3 separate regions of the Homo sapiens genome follow, and all the other regions are linked to region 1. The links are contacts of gene promoters, found by promoter capture Hi-C in blood cells and fetal thymus (Javierre and others, 2016). All regions are on one chromosome and are shown on one strand. Each heading gives the region's core, a stretch centred on a gene start or on the middle of the fragment in contact. The rest is flanking DNA. Distances are from core to core; before and after follow the strand shown. Region 1 holds the start of SLAIN1 (SLAIN motif family member 1). Region 2 holds the start of KCTD12 (potassium channel tetramerization domain containing 12). Region 3 has its middle 16 kb from the start of FBXL3.

Region 1 (3,027 bases), core at 314-2,813:
TTCTTTACTTAGGACTTTCAGTAGTATTACTCCATTTCTCCAGGTTTTGGTAATAACCAAAAAAAATCCTAAAGATATACCGAAACTTGGAAAGGTGATGGGTGATACAGGTGGTTAGGTGGTGGGCTAGCAAGCTGGGACACAGGGAAGGTTAAGGGAGTCATCACACGCATTTAGCTAATTTATGGAAGCGCTCACCAAGCATGTTAAATGCAGAACATCCACCCTGCACACAGAAGCTAGAGATGTAGATTAACAACTGAGAAGATACAAGTGTTTCTGAGCAGGAAGACACAAAACCATATCTGAAACCAATAGATACGATGTGTTAGCAGCTCCAGAGAAATGAGGTACATTGTCACAAAGATTGGTATGTAAAGTCCCTAGCAAGGACTTTCACTAGATAGTATATCATCTGAGGATGAGAACCAGTGGTGTAGATTTTTCTCATAATATAATCTCAGGTTTTCCTCTGATTGTGTTAAACACTCAAAATGCTAAGTCAGTCAGTATTCATTGAACACAACTCGATTAAATTCTTCTGCTTAAAAGCCTCTTTTAAAAAAAGCAGATTTGCTCGTTTTCCAAGTGGTAAGAAATAGCAGGTTTGCAGGTGAGATTAAAGTGTATTGGGTAGAATTCTGAGGTTTTCTGTTTTCTGCTTTCCCACCAGCAAGTCTGACTTTAATAACTTACACATTATTTAATAGAAGGAGCACTAAACAATTTTACTCATATTTCTCCCCATAACCATTTTTGCCTATTGTACTCATTGCCCGCATCACGAGCTCTTAGAATGGTTCCTGGCACAGAGTAGGTGCTCAAAGATCTTTTGTTTGGGGAATGCATGAATATACATAGTATGAAAAAAAAAGCAGTTCTTCTTTTATTGTGACAAACAATGATGGTAACAGTTCAAATTTGACTATTTTAGAATAAATAAGTAAACACTTGTCTCCTTAGCAGCTGGCCACTCTACCTCTTAGAGAGAGGGCTTTCTTCTCTTTCTTCTCGGTCTCCTGTCTCCCACCATTTTGCTTCTCTATTACCAATGAGAACATGAGTGGCATGGTCCCAAAGCCTTTCTGTTCCCCCTATCTCCACTTTTCGGTTTTTAGAATAACGATCCCCAGCCTTTAAGTTTTCTATAGGATTCGTTAGCCAGTGGCTATTAAGTGCTGTCACGGAGCCTAACAGAGAGCTGGGAAGGGAGCAAACCAGCGGGCCGGTGGTGCACTACTCGAGGGCCAGCACCTGCAGCTGCTTCTTTGGGAACCCCCTGGTCCCCGCAACCGCCTCAGAGACCCGCGCAGTTCACTGTCCCACCAAGCGGCAGGAGGAGGTGCTTGTGGCGGGAAAGTTCAGGCCAGGTCCAATCAGGCCCCTGGGATTAGGTAGCGAGGGTGGGTGCGGCTCCCCGGCCCCAACCCGGGCTGCCGGCCCCGCCCCCTGGGTGGGCTTCCCCACGGTTCTCCGCCCCCCCCCCCCCACCCGCCCCCTCGGCGCTCTTGCCCCGCCCCGCTCCGGGGCCGCGGCTAAAACCCGGAGCCGCCGCGACGCCCAGGGGACTGGAGGGACGCACTGAGCATGTGCAGATCAGCTCGGTGGTGGCTGCCGCGGCCGGAGGCGAGGGCCCGGTGCTGATGCGAACCGCCGGCTCGGCCTCAGCCCGCGCGTGGTCGGCCCCCCAGGCCGGGGCGACAGGGAAGGAGCCGTAGCCTCCCCGTGGCCCGAGGAGCCGGCGCGGCGGCGCGCACTCCCCGGCGGCCGCGGCGCCCTCGGGGCCCACGATGATGGCGGAGCAGGTGAAATGCGCCTCGGCAGGGGTCAGCTCTGGAGCGGGCTCCGGGCCGGTGGTGAACGCGGAGCTGGAGGTGAAGAAGCTGCAGGAGCTGGTGCGCAAGCTGGAGAAGCAGAACGAGCAGCTGCGGAGTCGAGCGGCCAGCGCGGCCGCCGCCCCGCACCTGCTGCTGCTGCCGCCGCCGCCGCCCGCCGCGCCGCCCCCCGCTGGCCTGCAGCCTTTGGGTCCTCGGAGCCCCCCGGCCGCCACGGCCACCGCCGCGGCCTCAGGGGGCCTGGGGCTCGGGCTGGCGCTGGGCGCGGGGGGCGGTGGCGGCAGCGGTAGTGGCAGCGGCGGTGGCTCCAGCCCCGCGTTCCCGGGCACCTTCTGCCTGCCTAGCCCCGCGCCCTCCCTGCTTTGCAGCCTGGCGCAGCCACCCGAGGCGCCCTTCGTCTACTTCAAGCCGGCAGCAGGCTTCTTCGGCGCGGGCGGTGGCGGGCCGGAGCCGGGGGGCGCGGGGACGCCGCCAGGGGCAGCTGCAGCGCCGCCCTCGCCGCCCCCCACGCTGCTGGACGAGGTGGAATTGCTGGATCTGGAGAGCGTAGCCGCCTGGCGGGACGAGGACGACTACACCTGGTACTGCCTGGCTCCGCTCCTTCCCCGAGACCCTGGCCTCGGGGGCTTCGGGCACCGGGGAGCGGGGGCGGGGGGCGGACGGGGGTCCCCTCGCGGCAGCCGGGGTGACTCCCCGCGGCTCCCGGAGGGGCCGACCCAGCAGGTGTTGAGCCAGGCGGTGACACTTCCCACGATGAGGCTTCTCATGAAGGCAGAAACCTGTTTTCTAATCGCTCCGACTGCGGATGAACCGGCCCCCCCTTCCCCCCATCTGCCATGGGTTCTGCTATTTGCTGATTGTTGGGTCCCAAGCTCCTCGTTAGCATTAAGTGCAAAATCCATGTCATCTTGTCTTTTTGCTCAGTGCTGCTCTTTTCCCCAGTGTTTTCGGAGGGATGACGGGGGATGGTAGGGGTTGGCCTCTGTCTGCGACTGTTACTGTTCTTTCGTTTTAAACGAACGCTGGACAGGATTTGCGTGCTCTTCCTCCTCGGGTGGCATCGGAAGCCGCGCAGTGATGGATCTCTCTTTATAGAGAGGTTCGTTCTTGCTGTTTGAATTTTGCAGTCGTGTGCCCTTTTGCGTTGCATTTTCATTGAAATCTTATTTTCAGAGACTGACTTGCTTTTTAA
Region 2 (3,027 bases), core at 1-2,500, 810 kb before region 1:
AGGGGGTCTGGGGAGCTCACTCCCTGCAGAAGACGTACTCGGTGTAGCTGGTCCAGATCTTGTCCTCGCTCTGGTCGGTGCTGCTGGCAAAGGCGCAGGTGCCCGTGGAGCTGCACGCCACCATGTGGAAGCCCGACTCGGACAGCTTGTCGAAGGCCTGCTCCAGGAAGTTGAACTTGAGGTAATAGCGCGAGGTGTAGCGCTCCGGGGGACGGTCGGGGTCCCGGCTTTCGTTCAGGGTGTCCCCAAACACCTCCTTGGCCAGCGACGTCTTTCCGCAAACGGTGATGCGCGCCACTCGCCGGAACTTGGCGTCCGCCTGCGCGTCCCGCCCGATGGTGTAGGAGCCGCGGTAGCCGATGGTGATGTAGCCCGAGCGCCGGCTGCCGTCCAGCGACTGGGACGGCGTGAGCAGCGGGCCCGCCGCGCCCCCGGACGGACTGCGGCTAGCCAGCTCCAGCGTGGGCGACGGCGCCCCGGCAGAGGCGCCCTCCTGCTGTTCGGGCTCCGAGTAGCCAAGCGGCAGCAGCTCGTCACCCAGCGAGCCCTCCTTGTGCACCCCGCGCCGCGAGGGCGGCGGCCCCGGGCCGGGCTGCTGGGGCGCCCCGAGGCGGCGCACGAGCTCTGGCAGCTCGAAGTACTCGGCCTCGCGCTGCAGCCGGCTGCGCTCGGGGAAGTAGTCGGGCAGCACGAGCTGCAAGTCCCGCAGGTAATCCAGGATGTAGCGGAAGAGGAAGCCGTCCCGGTCCAGAAAGAAGCGGCCTTTGCTGTCCCGGGCCAGCTCCTGCGGCTGCTGCTGCGTGAACATGCGCCAGAGCAGCGAGTCGGGCACCGACACCACCGTGCAGCGCCGGGTCACGTACACCTGGCCCCCCACGTTCAGCTCCACGATGTCGGGGAAGAGCGGTGGCTCCGCGGAGGACGACGAGGAGCCACTGCCGCCCCCGCCGCCGCCCCCGTTGGGTAATCCACGTGTGCTGTCCGCCAGAGCCATGACAGAGAGGTGGCCGGGCCGGGACAGTGGCAGGAAGCCGCGCTGCACTCAGGAGCTGCAACCGCCTTCCCCGGAGCCCCGGAACCCGGACGCTCGCTCAGCCCTGCGCCCCGCCGCCGCCGCCGCCGCCACCGCCGCCACCGCCACCGCCGCCACCTCCTAGAGCCGCGCGGAGCCGAGCGGTGCGAGCGCGCCGCTGTGCGCCCCCTTGAGTTCCAGTGCGCTCCGCCCGCCTTGCCCGCGCGCTCCAGGCGAGTGCCGGGTCGCGGCCCGCGCGCTGCTTAAGTAGAGCCGCCTGCTCTGGTGCCGTGGCGCGCAGGAGGCGTGGGCGGCGGCGGAGCCTCGCTTACCGGGCGAGGGGAGGTGGGGAGCGGGGACTCGATTTGCATCTTAAACGCGGACGCCACGCGGGGCTGCTGGCTCCACCCCGGCTCGCGAGCGCTGGGGGCGCCCGGACTCCCACCCGCTCCCCACCCACCAGCCCCGCCCCGTGGTCCCGCCCAACTTTCTCCCTCTTCCGAAGAGGACCCGCCCGAGACTTGGCGGCTTCGGAAGACAGCTCCTTGGAGGGACAGTCACCGCGCCCCCTCCCCTCTCGCCCCAGCCCGCACCCAAGGACTCTGGAAGGAGGACGTGAACTTTCGGAAGCCTGTCGCCCCGGGAGTGGAAATGCGTGGCCGCCTCCGGCCCTCCCGCCTGCGGAACTGGGCGCTTCCAGCAGTGCAGCTGCGGCCTGCCATCGTTGGTTGTCGTGTCACTGAAAGTAGAGAGACGCGAAAAACCTGGAGAGACGAAAGAGCCGCCCCAGTCCGAGCGCAGCCAGATTTTGTTCAAGTTGCCTTGCAGCCAGCCTGGAAAATAAATAAATAAACCTAGAAACAAAAAGCAAACCTCAGTGTCCCGCAGTAGGATGCTTTACGATAGTTTATTTTCTGGCTGCAGAGACAAAATGAGATGAAGCTTCAAATCTGCTCTTAATTGCAATTCCCTCTTCCCGCAGGGCCTTCGAGGCACTTCACTTCGAAGTGAAGGGGTAAGACTCCGGAACGTTCGGTCTCCGGGTCCCATTCAGCCTTCGTTGAATCGCGCCCTTAGACTCACAACAGTTGCAGATCTAACGTAATTTTTAAAGCCACCTTTGGCGCCTGCATGTTTATCCTTCCAAAAGTCCAGGCGCCCCTTCTCTCCCGCATGCCTCGGTCACTCTTCGGCCCTGTCCAAGTTCCCGTCAGTCTCAGAAAGGGATATTTATATATCTGAAGGCCCTTGTCTGGATCCCATCTCTCAACTCCTGCTGCCTACACGTTTGCTTTTCCCCCTCGGACTGCAGCCCACAGAACCGCCCCCTCCCCCTGGAAGCTTTCCCTGGCTTCCCAGGTGGGTGGGGCCTCTGGATGGCTCCCTACACACTGTCTGCGCTGCTCCCAGCACGTTCTGAAATGTCATATTTATGAGTGATTATCTGATCACTGATTTGGGTATGAAAATAAGTAAGAGCTCCTGAATGCTGCAAAAAGAGAAGAGTGCAGAGGAGGGTGTCAAGAAATGATTGGGTCACTGAATGTTTCTTGTGTACCTGCTATTATTTGCAGGGCACCAGGGAGTGAGGAATGCAAAGGCGAATAATCTCCAAAGCGCTTTCAGTGTAGCCCAATAAGCAAAGGGTCAGGGGTCTGCGCAGTTATCACATCAGTTTGAAGTATAGACCACACATCAGGATAAATCAGGCAAGATCTTTGTTCTTGATAAAATTTATCCTTCTGTGTAACTACCCAGTGAGCTTCACAGTCTCCTCACAGATAAATGTCATTTTTATTTTGAAATGTTTATATCTGCTCAACAATTACCGCGCTCATGTCAGTGTGCTGAAATGAGATCAACCCCCAAACCAGTTATCTTAATTGCAAGTACAGATTTTGATACTGAATGTATTTCAACATTCTTTTTTTGTTGTTGTTCTGTTCTTTGGGATAAATAATAGATAACACAAAACTTCCAAGTCCCAGTGCAGGATTTCGAGGTGGTTGTGCTAC
Region 3 (3,027 bases), core at 150-2,649, 650 kb before region 1:
TGGTCCCAACCATTTTGGATAAGATGTATTTCATAAATTAGTATTTCTTTTCATAGAACTAGCAGTAATGTAACAATAATAGCATGATGTGATAGAGCTTGGGCTTTAAACCCAGAAAGCTGTGAATTCACATCTCAGGATTTTTTTTTCTGAAGCTAAACTACAGCTGGAATCTAGTGCAAATAATTTCTTTAAACAGCCAAAATGGGATTAATAATGCTTTACTCTCAGAGTTGCCAGGAGGATTAAATAAAATGCCTAATTTCACTGGCTGCCTTTTAGGAGGTGTTGAGTAAATGTCCTCTCCTTTGCTCTCTCTTGAATAGTTTATTGTGGGATAAAGCACTTTTGTATATACCTTCTCATTTGATTTTGATTTGGAATAATTTCTAATAAATTGAGATTTTAAAAGGTATGTGGCTGACTCAAGGCCACCCAAGCAAAAACAAGGCAGAACCAAGGCTTGAATTCAAAGCTTCTGGTTTCCATCCCAGCACTCTATGCACTATCGGCAGTTTTCAGGAAAATGAGCCGCAGTGTTCCATCATACAGCCAATAGCAGAAACACGTGATGATGTATAGGTAGAATACAGTGACACAGTGGGCAGGGAGATATATTGGGCTGAAAATCTGAAAAACAATACAAATTACTAAACATTCTGAATGAAAAGTGAATAAAGGGAGCATTGCATATATTTTATCAAATAAGCTTATTGAGGTTGGGTGCGGTGGCTCACACCTGTAATCCTAGCTGAGGCAGGTAGATCGCTTCAGCTCAGGAGTTTGAGACCAGCCTGGCCAACATGGTGAAACCCTGTTTCAATTACAAAAATTAGCTGGGCATGGTGGCTCGTGCCTGTACTCCCAGCTACTTGGGGCTGAGGTGGGAGGATCACTTGAGCCCAAAAGGCAGAGGTTGCTGCGAGCCGAGATAACGCCACTGCACTCCAGCTGGGGCGACAGAGTGAGACCCTTTCTTAAAAAAAAAAAAAAAAACCCAAAAAACTCAAAAAACCAAAAACCAAAACCAAATAAGCTTATTGATAAAATAGGGAGATTTTAGGCCTAAACAGTCTAGCCATAATACTAAGAAAAATGGCTTTTCCTAGGCTTGAAAATATAACGGAAAAACAATTTCTTTCCAGGAAGATTCACTGACATCTACCACTGTGATTCTGCTTTCTGTCTCCTGCCTTGGATGTTACATGCAGTGTTTGAAGGATGGTCCTTGTGTGTAGGATGCTTGAGCTAAAAATGCCTGCCAAAGCCACTCCTTCCTGTGCTTTGTCATAATTTATTGCTAAGATGTTTATGTTCTCTGGTTTTGAGGTGCTAGAGATCCTGACTAAAAGTGACTTCCTCATAAATGAAGATAAGTTGAAGTCATTGTGAGTATTCACTACACAGCTTTGTTGATTTTATCCCTTTCATAACTTGAGATGGCTTTTTTAGCCAAGCCATCTCAATAGTTTGTTTCTTTTCCTCTACGATTTACAAACTGAGCTGACCAGTTTGCCAGCAAAGTTAACTGACGCAAGATGGTATTCTTCGCAGCTATTAAGTGTCCATAAAGTCTCTTATCTGTGTGGCATTCTCAAGGTTAGTTTCATTCCTGTGGCCTGTGAATTTAAGTCAAATATACTGACAGTGTCAAGTCAAATATACTGACAGTGTCCTCACTGCATTCTCCCCTCCAGTTTTCTTGTAACAGCTTTAGTCTCTCTACGTACTTTGTGTTTTCTGGAAACATTTTCAGTCAATCCTAAGCTTGAACACTCATACTTACTGTTCTTTGATCATATTCTAGATTTTCCTACTTAGGTATTTCTCATGCCTTTCTCCACATCTCTGCTCCTTGAAATGCTACTTATTCTTCAAAAGGCAGCTTAAATGGCCTCTTAGCTACACTCCCAACGACAAAACAATAATGATTTTTCCTAAATCCTGAAGCATTTGGCTTGGATATTTTTATGAAACTTATTAGAACATTCTGTAAAATAGTTACCTGTGCTCAGATCTGATCTTTATTTTTTAAGTTCCTTCAAGGCAAAGATTGTTTTAAATTTCTCATAAATGCTTAACACAAATGTCATTAAATTTGTCAGTAATTCTATATTGACAAATTAAGTTCTATATTTCCCACAGTTGGAATTTAGAACAAAATGTGATTAAAACTTTTGCTAGTCTTGGCCAGGCGCGGTGGCTCACGCCTGTAATACCGGAATTTTGGGAGGCCGGAGGCGAGCGGATCACCTGAGGTCAGGAGTTCAAGACCAGCCTGGTGAAACCCCATCCCTACTAAAAATACAAAAATTAGCTGGGTGAGGTGGCACACGCCTGTAGTCCCAGCTCCTTGGGAGGCTGAGGCAGGAGAATCGCTTGAACCTGGGAGGTGGAGGTTGCAGTGAGCCAAGATGGTGCCACTGCACTCCAGTGTGGGCAGCAGAGTGAGACTGTCTCAAATACAACAACAACAACAAAAGTTTTGCTAATCTGATGTATGATGAGTCAACAATCAATAATTTGGCAATTTCATGACTCGAGTGTCAAAAAGATGTACCTAAACACACCGTTGTCTATAGAAAATGAATAAAAAATTAGTGATTTTATTACTTTATATGAACTTCAAAAAGGGGCTGGGTGCAATGGCTCACGCCTGTAATCCTAGCACTTTGGGAGGCCAAAGCAGTGGGGATTGCTTGAGTCTAGGAGTTTGAGACCAGCCTCGGCAACATGGCAAAACCCCATCTCTACAAAAATTACAAAATTAGCTGGGCATGGTGCTGGTGCATGCCTGTAGTCCCAACTACTCAGGGGGCTGAGGCTGGAGGATCGCTTGAGCCCAGTTGGAGGCTGCAGTGAGCTGAGATCACGCCGCTGTACTCCAGCCTGGGTGACAGTGTAAGACCCTGTCTCATAAATAAATAAATAAAGTTAAAAATGCTGCTAGTTAAAATAGAAGTTAATTTCCTAAATGCTTTCTTCTGTCTTTGGTATGAATATATTTACCTACGAATATATATATAT

The links. The method cuts DNA at HindIII sites, captures the fragments that hold promoters and counts their contacts. A CHiCAGO score of 5 or more calls a contact.
Region 2: a contact is called between the fragment with the promoter of KCTD12 here and the fragment with the promoter of SLAIN1 in region 1, in 2 of 17 cell types (fetal thymus and naive CD4 T cells). The highest score is 8.2, in fetal thymus.
Region 3: a fragment that was not itself captured here is called in contact with the fragment with the promoter of SLAIN1 in region 1 in 1 of 17 cell types (non-activated CD4 T cells); the score reaches 5.8 in non-activated CD4 T cells.

The regions. Positions count from the first base shown.
Region 1 is chr13:77,696,124-77,699,150 of GRCh38, forward strand. It overlaps SLAIN1 (SLAIN motif family member 1), which reads left to right and starts at 1,564. Exons shown (of 7, transcript NM_001242868.2): 1 at 1,564-2,416. The coding sequence starts at 1,791. MIR3665 (microRNA 3665) reads right to left here and starts at 1,993; the gene lies at 1,889-1,993. RefSeq lists silencers at 1,322-1,881, 2,082-2,321, 2,482-2,631. The HindIII fragment of the contact is 5,751 bases long and covers 1-3,027 here.
Region 2 is chr13:76,885,155-76,888,181 of GRCh38, forward strand. KCTD12 (potassium channel tetramerization domain containing 12) reads right to left here and starts at 1,251. Exons shown (of 1, transcript NM_138444.4): 1 at 1-1,251. The coding sequence starts at 994. The coding sequence ends at 17. RefSeq lists an enhancer at 266-765 and silencers at 379-648, 1,049-1,478. The HindIII fragment of the contact is 7,244 bases long and covers 1-1,952 here.
Region 3 is chr13:77,041,444-77,044,470 of GRCh38, forward strand. No RefSeq gene overlaps it. Among named protein-coding and RNA genes, the nearest start is that of FBXL3, 16 kb to the left of the region's middle. The HindIII fragment of the contact is 731 bases long and covers 1,035-1,765 here.